2 separate regions of the Homo sapiens genome follow, and region 2 is linked to region 1. Evidence: promoter capture Hi-C in 16 types of primary human blood cells and fetal thymus (Javierre and others, 2016). All regions are on one chromosome and are shown on one strand. Each heading gives the region's core, a stretch centred on a gene start or on the middle of the fragment in contact. The rest is flanking DNA. Distances are from core to core; before and after follow the strand shown. Region 1 holds the start of FSTL1 (follistatin like 1). Region 2 overlaps GPR156 (G protein-coupled receptor 156).

Evidence for each region. The method cuts DNA at HindIII sites, captures the fragments that hold promoters and counts their contacts. A CHiCAGO score of 5 or more calls a contact.
Region 2: a contact is called between a fragment that was not itself captured here and the fragment with the promoter of FSTL1 in region 1, in 1 of 17 cell types (M2 macrophages). The highest score is 5.4, in M2 macrophages.

The regions. Positions count from the first base shown.
Region 1 is chr3:120,446,962-120,453,728 of GRCh38, reverse strand. FSTL1 (follistatin like 1) reads left to right here and starts at 2,737. Exons shown (of 11, transcript NM_007085.5): 1 at 2,737-2,832; 2 at 2,983-3,045. The coding sequence starts at 2,983. It overlaps LOC124900546 (a long non-coding RNA gene), which reads left to right and starts at 3,075. Exons shown (of 2, transcript XR_007096030.1): 1 at 3,075-6,767. The HindIII fragment of the contact is 12,724 bases long and covers 1-6,767 here.
Region 2 is chr3:120,237,602-120,244,749 of GRCh38, reverse strand. GPR156 (G protein-coupled receptor 156) reads left to right here. Exons shown (of 10, transcript NM_153002.3): 2 at 272-747; 3 at 974-1,110. The coding sequence starts at 652. Among named protein-coding and RNA genes, the nearest start is that of GPR156, 44 kb to the left of the region's middle. RefSeq lists an enhancer at 839-2,038. The HindIII fragment of the contact is 2,739 bases long and covers 2,760-5,498 here.

The DNA of each region.
Region 1 (6,767 bases), core at 1,488-3,987:
TTGTTATTATTTTTTTGAGATGGAGTCTCTCTCTATTGCCCAGGCAGGAGTGCAGTGGCACAATCTCGGCTCACTGCAACTTCTGCCTCCCGGGTTCAAGCAATTCTGGTGCCTCAGCCTCCCAAGTAGCTGGCACCACAGGTGCCCACCACCATACCCATCTAATTTTTGTATTTTTAGTGGAGACGGGGTTTAATCATGTTGGCTAAGCTGGTCTCGAACTCCCGGCCTCAAGTGATCCGCCTGCCTTGGCCTCCCAAAGTGCTGGGATTACAAGGCATGGGCCACCGTGCCCAGCCTCCTTTCTATCTATTGTGAAAATTAAATAAAATAAGAGATGTTGAATGGCTTTCATAGTACCTGGTGTATAGTACCAACTACAATTTAGATGCAAAGCCGATCATGAAATAATAATGGCTATCACATACAGAGGTCTACTACCTGCCAGGCACTTTTTATATGCATCTGCTTAAATTTCACAACTCCCTGCAAGGCATTATCACTGCCATTTGTCAGAGGCAGAAACCTAGGTTCAGAGGGCTTATTATTTGATGCAAGTCAGGCCATGCAGCTAGTAAATGGCAGTGATAGGATGGAAAGCCAGATTGGTTTGACCTCAAACCTCCTGTGCCTTCTACCATGCCAAGCTGTTGTCAGAAAAGATATGAAGGAAGCAAACTTGACGTGGTTCCTGAAAACAAAACAAACAAACAAACCCAAGCATTTTAGTAGATAAGAGGAAGGGAGGAAAGATGATACCAGATTCTGAGAGGGTGCAGTGGATCTGCAAGGGATGCAATGTATTGTGCGTTATTCGAGGGCAGAACTTTATCCACAATAGTTCCCTTCAATCCTTGCACAGTGACCAAGACAGAGTATCTGGTGCGGAACATCTATTCCCTAATCTTATTACCATAACAAGGGAGCAGGAGTAAGTTGTCTGACTGGAGAGTTTGAAAGAACTGGGGATGTGTCACTCTACCCCCTCAAGTTTGGGGAGCAGGCATGTCCCAGGAGGCACATATTTTCTGCTTTTCCATGCAGTTTAGTTTTTACACAGGCAGGTTTTCCAGCTCTGCTTGTGACTGAGTGGACATGTTCAATTCTGGGCCCGCTGTCCCTGCAGATCTAAAGCCATGGCTGCCATTCCAGCCTTTAGCAGAGACAAAGCTGACATTTTGCTCTCCATAAGTCTGACTCCTGTTGCTATCTCAGTGGATTCTGAACTTACATGGGGACCATGGGTATTATCTTGAAGCCCCCTAAAGCCACAACAGTGGGCACTCAACAAACCTTGGCAGCAGAGTGAGTATGACAAGTTCAGAGGACAACGAGGAGATGGGCCTGCTTTGAGCGGAGGAAGTATGCTGATGTAGTTGAAGAGAAGTTAGATGGACAGGGTGGGCCCAGTAATGCAGGGCTTATAAGAAAGGCAGAGTTTGGATTTGATGTGGGTAGAAGAACGCTGAAGTTTCTGAGTAGAGGAAGAACATGAACACGAGGAAGACAATGTTTAAAATAAGGGAAAGAATATGACAATGGATTGCAGTGGAGACTACAGGGGAGAGCCTGGAGTCAGAGGACAACGAAAGGAGGTTTCCAGAATTTCTGAGTGAGGGAGGATGAAGGTCTGGCCTAGGAAAGTGGACATGTGAACGGAGGCGAGGGGATGCATATGAGATCTCAGCGGCTAAACTGCCAGGCTATGGGTACAAGCCGGCTCTGAGAAAAGGAGATAGGTTTGAAGGCAACCACCCTGAAAGAGGTAGATAAGCAGGCCCTGAAGCTGGGGGAAGTGAGGCTTAGTCTTGGGCATGTGAAATCTGAGTTGCTAAGTGGATCTGCTCTCCTTACTAGTTATGGCAGGAAAGGCGCCTTAATTAGGAGCATTTTAGGGAGTTAACCCTGTCAAAGAGGTAGCACACTTTCGAAGGCCAAGGGCTGGGAAGAAGGTGGTGAAGATGGCAATCCTGAACACAGAGGCTACTTGGGATGACAGGGATGGGAGGAGGGACACAGGTGATGAGTGAGTGGGCGGAAGAGAGGAGGGGGACACCGCTCCCCGGCCCGAGGGAAGGAGGGGATGAGGCTGCCGGCAAACGCTGGACTCAGGATCTTCCCAGCAGAGCAGGGCGGCCGCCACCTCACCCGGGACAATGCACTGTAGAACCCACAGCAGCCTTCCCCACGCCGGCCGGTCTTCCCGGCCCTGCGCCCACTTCCCGGTGCCCCGCTGCCCTGCTGCCGTGACCCCGGGATGCGGGGTCTCCTCTGCCTCCCTGGGCCTCCCCCTTCAGCCATGGGGGGCGGCTCCGCTTCCTAGGCCGCGGGACGTCTTTTCCTCCAGGTTCCAGTCCCGGACCTTCCCGGGCCCCCCACGGCACCGCCCACCTGGCCACCGCCGCAGCCCGCCCGGGCCGCCGCCAGCCAGCAGCCCCTCCCGGGGTGGGGTTTCCCTTCCCCCTACCCCTTTGTGGCAGGGACCCACGGGACACCCCCTCTGCCTCCGCTCCACGTCCAGGGGGCCGAAGGGGCGCCGGACGAGGGACCGTGCGGAGAGAGGGGTTCGGCGGCGCCAGGACTCCCGCGGGCTCCCCGGAGCAGGGGTCGGAAGGAGGGGGAGCGGGAGCCGCGGGGGCCGCTGCAGCAGAAGGGGGAGGAGAATGGGGAGGAGCTGGGGGGGCAGGCAGGCGGGGAAGGAGAGGTCTTAAGGGGCGGCGAGGGGAGGTCGCATTTCCTCCGAGGCTGGCGATCGGCGGAGCTCCCACCTCCGCTTACAGCTCGCTGCCGCCGTCCTGCCCCGCGCCCCCAGGAGACCTGGACCAGACCACGGTGAGCGCAGGGCGCACGGCGCGGAGGCCGGACTCTTCGGGCGGCCGGGGGTGCTTGGGCGGCCGGAGCGAGCCTGCGGGACCCGAGCAAGTTTCCCAGGTCAGCGCGGGGCCCGGCGCCTTCAGACTCGCTCTCTTCTCTCTTCCGCAGATGTGGAAACGCTGGCTCGCGCTCGCGCTCGCGCTGGTGGCGGTCGCCTGGGTCCGCGCCGAGGTAGGCGAGGGGCCGAGGAGTCCGAACTCGGTCCCCGGGGCCTCTTGGGTCTGCGCGCTGGGCGGGTGGGCGCGCGTCCTGGGGATGCTCTCCCGGGGTGGCGCTGGGAGTTTCGGTCCTTGGGGTGTGCTGGGGTGGAGCTGGGGCAGTAATGCTGCTTACGAAACTTAAATCTTTAAAGCAGGAAAAGTAGTTCGGGCCGTAAGCGGGAGCCCCGCCGCGGCTAACATGGAGGGAGAGCGGGGAGGAGGAGAGGGGACGGGCTGGGCCGACGGGGACGAGGCGGCGACTGGAGCAGCAGCGAGTTCAAAAAGGCGCCTCAGTTCCGTCCTTCACTTCAGAGGAGACTGAGAGTAGTTGGGGACTTTTCCCTCCCAAGTCTGTCTCCTGGGGGCGGGGGCAGAGGAATCGGGATTCTTCTTTTGGGGCAAAATTAATTTTCCTTTCTCTCTTTTAAAGTGAGATCATGATTCTCTGAAATGTATTTTCTTCTTTGTGAAGTGTCCTCGGGTTTTGTGTTATCATCTGGGCAATGTAACGGCCTTTTCCCAAGTGTTCCCTGTAACGTTGCGCAAGTGTAAGAGAAGATCCATTGCTCTGCTCTTTGGGGGCTCGAGTTTCCAGTTAAAGCATTTCAGCGCTTGTTTTTTTGTACCAATTTTTTCAACTCTAACGACCTTCCTGAGACACTACAAACAAACCAACAAACTCTTTGCTCAGAAGCCGCTCCATTAACTCAAAGGTTTATGGACAGAAAATAAACAATTCTAAATTCCCCGGGCTCCAGTCTCCAGGAAAGTGAGGTCAGAAACTAAACATTTGATAATTATGGCAGGAAATATGGAAGGAATTAAAAAGCATGAGGGAGAAGAAATGGAATGCACATTACAAAAGAAATAGCTCCCTGGTGGGTGGTTTATGCTCCCTGTTTGAATTTTTTCCTTCATATTACAGTTTAACCACACCCTTAGCATCGCAGCTTGACTCTGCCCAAAAAAGTCATAAATGCATACAAGGTCTTCACAATTTTTAAAAAATACGCATTGTACTGAATTCTCATTTAATTCACTACTACGTTGTTGATTGAGGTGGAAACTCAATCAACTGTTTTTACTGCCAATGAAATAAAAGTAGCTAATATTTATTAAATATCTGCTATGTTGTAATAAAATTCCATTTTAATGACAGATAAATTGAGTCAGCGAAGGTTACCCAATGCTCTCAGCTATTAAATGCTAAGGGTGGGATTTGAACCCAAACAGTCTGGCTCCGGACCCAAGGCTCTTGACCATTAACCCACACCACTTCCAAGCACAATGGTTTAACATTTACCAAGTACATTTTTGTTTACCACACACTGGGCTGTGTACGTTACCTGCAGTTACTTCTTTTAAAGCTCCCAAACCCTGTAATGTAGGTTTTATTATCCCGATTTTACAGAGGAAGAAACAGGTTTAAGGAGATTAGGTAACTTGCCCAGGGTCATACAACTAGTTAGCTCTGAAGCAGGATCTGAACCTACCTCTCTTACCTTTGGAGCCCATCTTGAACTCCAGGTCTGCTTCTTATCCATCTGGTTTTCCAGGGTTTGCATTTGAGAGCGTATCCCCCTTCACTGGCTGATGTAGCCCTGGTTAAGAAACATTTCTCCATCCCCTGCTGTGGCCCTCAAAAGGCAGTTGCAGACCAGTGATGGATGAGGTGAATCCCTGGTTGGTTTTCCAGCAGGCTCAAGAATTGCCAGCCAGTGTGTGAAATCACTCAGTGAACTGGAATGCAAATATGAGGTGTGAGGAGGCTGTTGGTTGACTTACCAGGCTGTGTGGCCCAAGGTCTGGAATCTATTCTAGGCGGCCTGCAAGACACACACCCCTCCCAACCCCCTTCCACACAGGGAAAACTTATCCCTGGTAGGAAGTTCCCCCAGCAGCAATTTCCTGCTGGAGGTAGAAGAGCATCCAGTGCTCTCACATAATTCCCAGGCAAACTACAGGGAAGAAGGCAAAATAGAGAAGTACTGAGATGTGAAAACAGAGTGCGTTGGGGGAGAAAAGAGGCTGTGAACTCACAGTGTATGGAAATGGTTACAATGAAAAGAGTGAGGGGTAGGTATGAGCTAGGTTACATTTCATGGCTCCAGGTTATTAAGGATTATTATCTTTTAATTATTCCAACCTCCTGGTGCCTGGCCAAGTAAGATTTGGCAAGTTTTTAATCCATTTAATAATAATATACCTTTAACAATTGATGAAGAGGTACATTAACCCTCTCCCTATGGGAATTGTAATTTGGATTTTTTAAAAGCCTTTTATCTTGTAGTTAATGGTGCTTGCTGTTTAAATTTCTTCCTTGTTAACTCTAAGGACAGTCTGCAAAAATGGTCACATCATGATATTTACAGTCCTTAGTGACAATCTATTTTAGTAAACTTCAAATCGCTAAAATTGTACAAATATTGTTGAACTTTTTAGAAATGAAATTTAGAAAATAAATTGAGGCTTCTTGGTGCTTTCTGCTTTTCTGCGACCATAAATATTTAATTCAGCATATTTTTAAACAATTTAATCACTTTACAAATCATGTTGATATTTGAAGAAGCCAGAGCCTCTGTAGTAAACCAGAATCAGAGGTGCTCTCCACTTGGGAAAAGGTGATTGTCATCAGTATTAATGCCAGTCTATGTCAATCCCATTTGGTTAGATTCACAAAGCTATTAACAAAAGTCATAAAGGAGCCTGGGCTCAGTGGCTCATGCCTGTAATCCCAGCACTTTGGGAGGCCAAGACGGGAGGACTGCTTGAGCCCAGGAATTTGAGACCAGCCTGGGCAACATCGTGAGACCATATCTCTACAAAAAATAAGAAAATTACCTGGGCATGGTAGCACACACGCCTCTGGTCCCAGCTACTCAGGAGGCTGAAGCAGGAAAATCACTTGAACCCAGGAGGTTGAGGCTGCAGTGAGCCGTGATGGTGCCACTGCACTCCAGCCTGAGCAACAGAGTGAAACCTTGTATTTAAAAAAATAGAAACAAACTCATTAAGCAAAGTGTCATATTGTTTTGAATGTGTTCCATGGTGTCCTACTTCCTTGGCACCTCAGGGTTGCTTTCTGATTGCTTCTTCTCTTTCTTACCTGCTCACTCTCTTACTACTCTGTCTGCAGCATATACCTTCAGCCAGCCTCCCTCCAGATTCTGCCACATCCACCTGAGCACACACACCCATGCACTCTGTAGTCTGCTTGAAAGAAGGTACTGGGTGTAGCATATGTCTCTAGATGTGTGTAGATTAACATGTGAATGGACTAGGCAGAGAGGGCAGCAGCAGAGGGAGTGCCTGCACTAATAATTACACAGATATCCCTTTTCTAGATTCTCTGGGGAGAGGACTGTGTGAGCCTGCTCATCTACTCTTTCCCATCCCCCTCCCATTGGGAATTACTACAGTTCATTGAGAAGTGTTGATGGTGGATGCATAGTATGGAGCCTGGGAAAATGTTAAGAACACAGGCGGTAGTGTGTGTGCCCTTGAAGCTCAGTCAGTGGATATCTGTCACTCTAACATGGCAGGCTGGAGAGAACCCTGTGGCCCAACTGCCTGCTTTAGGAAGACAGCCCTGGCAAGTACCCAAGCATACCCCCACTCTCCCTTGGTGGATGTCTCTGCTGTCACTATGATTCCCAGCATTCCAGGTCTAGAAATTCATTATGATAAGTCACA
Region 2 (7,148 bases), core at 2,880-5,379, 210 kb after region 1:
AATGTTAGATATGCTTTATCTTTGTTTTAAAAATATTATTTACTATAATGGCTTAAAATATGTTGATTTAAATATATGATATTTGATACCTTTGTAATATATATAATAAAGTGTATAATAAAATATAACTATATAATTAAAATAGATGATATTTTAAAACCTCTCTAATAAACCATTTACGTGTGTGTGTGTGTGTGTGTGTGTGTGTGTGTGTGTGTGTGTGTGTATACATGCCTTTGTTTAACAGGTTTAATTGCTTTCCTTTCTTCAGGAACCAGAGTGAGGGTACTCGAACAGTGACTGCCATCTGGTGGTTAACCAGAATCATCACCTTGTGTAGCCTGATGGTTACTAAGATGTCCACTCTTGACTCACATGGCATGCACTCGCAGCAGGGGACCAGTTGAAGGATGTCTGACTTTGGAGGGTCACCAGTTGAAGGATGTCTGATGAAGGAGCCTAGCGAAATAACCCTTTGCTTCTACCTGAATGGGTTGTTCACTCTGGATTCTGAGCCTGCAGCCAGCTCCAAAATGGGGCCTCTGAAGAAAAGATTTGAGTTGCTCTTGTGTCTTAGTCAAAGATCTACATCCCTACCAGTGGGTAACCAAGACTGTGAATAAGCACACACCAACAGGGGCATGTGGTGACATGGAGCCTGAAATAAACTGCTCTGAATTGTGTGACAGTTTTCCTGGCCAGGAGCTGGATCGGAGACCCCTTCATGATCTCTGCAAGACAACAATTGTAAGTGAGCAGCCACAGGATGCCAGGGCTGCTCAGATGTATGTGGTGGTGGTGGTGTTGGGGAGGAGGAGGTGGAGGGAAAGGGGGATGAGGAAGGGGAGGAGTGGGAGGAGAAACTGCTCATGCAGGATACATATTTCCCAGCACTTGGTGACGATGGGGCAGTTTGTTTTTGACCTATAGAAGATCCTTCATTCCTAACAGCTCCTCCTTATTCTGTCCTCAGACATCTTCCCACCACAGCAGTAAGACCATCTCTTCATTATCTCCTGTCCTCTTGGGTATTGTTTGGACTTTTCTCAGCTGTGGACTTCTGCTGATACTTTTCTTTCTTGCCTTTACAATTCACTGCAGGAAGAACAGGTAAGCAGCCCAGTTTCTCATCACACATAGCTCAATCATGAAATCCCAAATGTTAGTATCTTTTGGCAGCACAAGCCACTATCTGGTCTCCCACTACAGGATTAAACCACATGAGACATTCCCTCTGAAATAGTCTACCTGTTGAGAAGGGGAAAGATCTAGGTCGGTATTGTGCTAACTACTGCAAGGGTATCCAAAGAAGAGAATGAAGAGTCTCTCTCTATAATGGAGGTACAATCCTTCTGAGAAGATGAGGTATCTGTATTTAAAATGAAGACCATGTAGAGGATTCCAAAACAACACAAAAACTTGAGGACAGCACAGCAGAACCAGTCTGGGTGAGTTAGGGTTTCTGCAAAAGCAGTGAAGCACTGCTACCTGGCTATTTGCTAGATAATTCTGGCTGACTAGAAAGTCATCAGCTTATCAGGGTAAGTATGGCTCCCAGGATTCGCAAAAGAAGCAAAATGGTGACTTTTTTCTGAAGGGACTTATAGCACCTTGCCTTGGATGCAATTTCATCCTTCCTCAGGGCCCATCCCATCTCTCCCACCCCCACACTGTACCCTCATCCTACCACAGCCGTCCCAGGGTGCCTCATGAGAAGCCCTGCTCCAGCCCTCTCCTTAGCCCACAGCTGACTTCTAGATGGAGCCCACAATCAGAAATTAACAACTTCCTCAAACCAGCCAAACTCGTCCAGCCCCACTCCAGCCTTACCCTGTGTGGTGACCAAGCATGTCGTGCTCCATTGCCTGTGGATTTGACACTCAGATGAGAATTGGTCAGTTGCATTTTGGGATGCTGTTTTGCCATGTTAGGCATGGAGGACGTGGAATTGTTAAGCAGCAGTGATTGGTTGTTGGGTCAGCCTCAGCATGGTGGTGATACGTGGCACTCCAACTAGAGTATACCCCAGAGACTGCCTCAGCCACTTTTCATTCTGTTCCTCAAGCACACTACGCTGACTCCCATCTCAAGGCTTTTGTACTTACTGTTCCTGTACTGTTCCCTCTGCCTGGAAGTCCTCCTCAGATATTCCCATGACTAGTTCCTTCTCATCTTATAGGTCTTGGCTCCAGTGTCACCTCTTCAGAGACACCTTCCCTGATCATCCTATCTAAAGTAGTATCCCTACCCATGATCACCCCCTCATCTCATTCCATATCCTATCAGCCTGTTTTATGTTCCTTATAGCAAGCATAGTCTGCTATTACCATATTTGTTGATTTACCTGTTGATTGTCTGTATCCCCTACCAGAATGGAATTCTGTGAACACAGGGACTTTGCCTGTCCTCTTGTGCCCACCACTGTGTCTCCAGCATTTAGAACAGACTCTGGGATATAATAGGTGCTCAGTAAATATGCATCCAGTGATCCTGGGAGGAAAGAGATTTAAATCCCAACGGTGGCTGCTGCCAACAAAGTGACTGGGAAAATCATGCATTTCAAGGTTAGAGAACTATGGAGTACAGTCTTTTCAGCTGTAACATGTTTCTATAATGCAAAGTAATACTCAATTGGTATTACCCAGTTGGTAATAAGAAAATTATGTCATTGATTCATATGTTACTTTTCCCCCAGCAAATCAATAATTTAAACATTCAGGGGCAAGCTTTCTCACAGCTAGTAAAGGAAGCTTTAAGCTTGGCAGTTCCTTCCCTTGGTGCAAGTAGTGTCTGGCTTAATGGCTTAAGAACTTGTGTCTTCCCTACAAGATGAGGCTGTAGGAGTAGATGAAGAAGTGGAGAAGACATTTGCCTTATGTTTAAAAACTTCAGTTGATTGTTAAAGAAAGCACAGATCCAGAGCAGATTTTTAATTTTTTGACAATGTTATCTACTGGAGATGAATGCCCCTGAGGACCTGTGTCTTGAGATTTAAGACTGTAGAAGTTGACTTTGATCCTGGGTACAAATGCTAGTGGACATTTACTGGGTGGTAGTGTTTTAGTTGGAATAATTAATATTTTATTAATACTCTTGTTACAAAGTTAACTGTTTTGAGTGTTATGACCCCATCCTATTTTCCCCACAGTCTATTATTTTTACATATAATTTTGCAGAATACAAGGTTTATCAAGTATTTATATATCCTGTTAAAACAGGAACACCTGTAAACAGCATTATACTAGAAACCCTTATATTTCTTTCACTCTATTAAATATTTTGCTGCCTGTTTTGTTTGCAGTGGGAGCATGACTTGGCATAAAGAATAAAATATTAAGAGGTATTGTGAATAAAAACACATTTTACAATTAAGTGGCTTACAAGGTCAGACAAGGAAAGATAAAATAACCCAGTTTCAAAAGTGTTTTATTGAACAATACATTTGTTAAAAGATGCAGCATCACAATCAGATGCTTTATTTCGTTACAATTCTGTGGTCTCTAAATTTGGGACTGTGTGTGTGAGTATTCATGTGTGTGTATATGCAAGAAAGGAGAGGAAGAAAAATATTTTAACACAATAAAAATAATACAAAAATGTTTAAATCCAGTTGCAGATATTGAATTTTTATAAAAATTTCAAAAACCAGTAAAGATAAAGAAAACTTGAACACTATCAACCAACTTGACCCAATTGACATTTATATTACCTTTCACCCAACAACAGCAGAATACATATTCTTTTGAAGTACACATGGAACATTTACCAAGATATATCATATTCTGGGCCATAGAAAAAGTCTCATTAAATTTAAAAGGGTTCAAGCCGGGTGCAGTGGCTCATGCCTGTGATCCCAGCACTTTGGGAAGCTGAGGCGGATAGATCACCAGAGGTCAGCAGTTTGAGACCAGCCTGGCCAACATGGTGAAAACCCATCTCTACTAAAAATACAAAAATTAGATGGGTGTGGTGGCATGCACCTGTAGTCCCAGCTACTTGGGAGGCTGAGGCAGGAGAACCCGGGAGGCAGAGGTTGCAGTGAGCTGAGATCATGCCACTGCACTCCAGCCTGGGTAACAGAGCAAGACTCTGTCTCAAAAAAAAAAAAAATTAAAGGATTCAAGTCATATAAACTATGTTTTCTGACAATGAAATTAAAATGGAAATCAATAACAGAAAGATCTCTGGAAAATCCTGAAATATTTAGAAACTACATAGAACACTTTAATCCATGGTCAAAAAAGAAATCAAAAGGAAAACTAGAAAATATTGACCAGAATTAAAATGAAAATACAACCTAGATTTGTTGGATGCCACTAAAGCAGTATTAGGGGGAAATCTAGAGAACTAAACCCCATATTAGAAAAGAAGAAATGTCTCAAATCCATGACCTCATCTTCCACCTTACAAACAGAAAAAAAGAGCAAATGAGACCCAAAGTAAGTAGAAGAAAGGAAATAATAAAGATCAGGTTAGAAAATAAAATAGGAAACAGAAAACAATAGGAAAAAAAAGTCAGTAAAGCCAAAAGCTATGAAGATAAGTAAAACTGATCAACCTCTAGCCAAAGTGATCAGAAAAAAAAGAAATAAGATACAATTACCCAAATAAGGAATGGGAGAGGTGACATCACTATAGATTCTGTAGATATGACGGATAAGGTAATGTTGTAAACAACTATGGTAGATAGCCTCTAAGATGTTCTTCGATGATTCCCACCTCCTTGTAGTCACACTCCTATGAAGTCCTCTCTCCTTGAGTATGAGGTGAACTTACTAACTTGCTTTTTAGTGAGATGTCGCTTTTGGCATTAGTTCACAAAAACTGTGGCTTCCACCTTAGAGCTCTCTCATTGTCCCACTAACTCCCACTCTGTGGGAGGCCAGCTGTTGTGTTATAAGCTGTCCTGTAAAGAGGCCCCCATTGGCAAGGAACTGATGTTTCCAGCCTGCAGCCAGCAAGTACCTGGGGCTTGCTAACAGCCATGTCAGTGAACTTTGAAACAGGTGACACCTTGACTGTATTGTTGTGACACCTTGACTGTATTCTTATGTGAAAACCTGAGCCACAGGCACCCAACTAAGCTGTGACTTAGAAATATTACCAGTTCAACTTCAAACTCTTCTAAAAAAACTGAAAATAAAGAAGTAATTCCCAACTCATTCTATGAGGGCAGTATTACCCTGATTTCAAAATTGAATAGGAAAAAGAAGAAGGAGAAGGAGAAGAAGGAGAAGGAGAAGGAAGAGGAGGAGGAGAAGGAGAAGGAGGAGGAGGAGGAGGAGGAGAAGAAGGAGAAGGAGAAGAAGAAGAAGAAGAGGAAGAGGAAGAGGAGGAAGAAGAAGAAGAAGAAGGGAGGAGGAAAGCTATAGGCTAATATGTCCTATAAACATAGATTCAAAATTTTAAACAAAATTTTAACAAATTGAGTATCACCAAATGTTAAAAAGAGAATACATCATTGTGACAACGTGAGGTTTATCCCTGGAATGTAAGCTTTGTTTAATATCTAAAGATTGATCAATAACTCATGACATTTACCAACTAAAAAAGAAAACTATATGATCATCTCAGTAGATACAGAAAAATTTTTGACAAACTTCAACATCAATTTCTGATAAAGTCTCAACAAACAGCATAGAACAGAACTTCCTCCCCATTGCGCAGCACAGCTGCTGTGGCAGATTGTGGCCAGACTGCTTCTTTAAGTGGGACCCCGATCCATCCCCCCTCACTGGGCAGGACCTCCTTGTGAGAATTTCAGCAACTCCAGCCAGGGTTTTATGGACAGAACTCTGATCTCTCTGGGACAGAGCCCCTCAGGGGAAGGGTGGCCACAGTCTCTGTGGTTCAGCCAACTTAGCCTTTCCTGCCTGCTGGCTCTGGAGAGTCTGGGCAGTCTGGACAAAAGGGGATCCCCCCAGTGCAGTGCACCCAGTCCCCCAAGGGGCAGCCAGACTGCTTCTTGAGGCAGGTCCCTGATCCCATTCCTCCTGACTGGGTGAGAACTCCCAAAGGGATCCCCAGACACCTCTTACAGGAGTGTTTGGGCCAGCGTCAGTTTGGAGCAGGCAGCCATCTTTGCTGTTTTGCACCCTTTGCTGGTGATAGTGATACCTCCAGGTGCAGAAGGGACCCAGGTGATTAGGGTCTGGGGTGGACCACTAGCAAACCACAGCAGCCCTGCAGAAGAGGAGCCTGACTGTTAAAAGAAAAACAAAGCAGCAACAACAACATAAACAAAAAAGATCCCCAAAAAAACCCATTGAAAGGTCAGCAACCTCAAAGACTGAAGGTAGATAAGCCCACAAAGATAAGAAAGAATCAATGCAAAAATGCTGAAAACTCAAAAAGCCAGAGTGCCTCTTCTCCAAATGATTGTAATACCTCTCCAGCAAGGGCACAGAACTGGGCTGAGACTGAGATGGCTGAATTGACAGAAGTAGCCTTCAGAATGAGGGTAATAACGAACTTTGCTGAGCTAAAGGAACATGTTCTAACCCAATGCAAAGAAGCTAAGAATCATGATAAAACATTACAGGAGCTGATAACCAGAATAGCCAGTTTAGAGAGGAACATAAAACACCTAATGGAGCTGAGAATCACAACGTGAGAACGTCACAATCCAATCACTAGTGTCTATAGCTGAGTAGACCAAGCAGCAGAAAGAATCTCAGAGCTTGAAAACTGTCTTTCTGAAATAAGACAGGCAGACAAGAATAGAGAAAAAAGAATGAAAACAAACAAAACCTCCAAGAAATATGGGATTACGTAAAAAGACCAAACCTACAACTGATTGGAGTACCTGAAAGAGATGGGGAGAATGGAACCAAATTGGAAAACATACTTCATAATGTCATCCAGGAGAACCTCGCCAATCTAGCAAGACAGGCCAACATTCAAATTCAGGAAATGTGGAGAACCCCAGTAAGATACTCCACAAGAAGATCAACCCCAAAACACATAATCATCAGATTACCCAAGGTCAAAATGAAAGAAAAAATGTTAAGGGCAGCCAGAGAGAAAGGCCAGGTCATCTACAAAGGGAAGCCCATCAGACTAACAGTGGACCTCTCAGCAGAAATCCTAGAAGCCAAAGAAACTGGAGGCCAATATTCAACAATTTTTTTATTTTTTGTTTTTTTGAG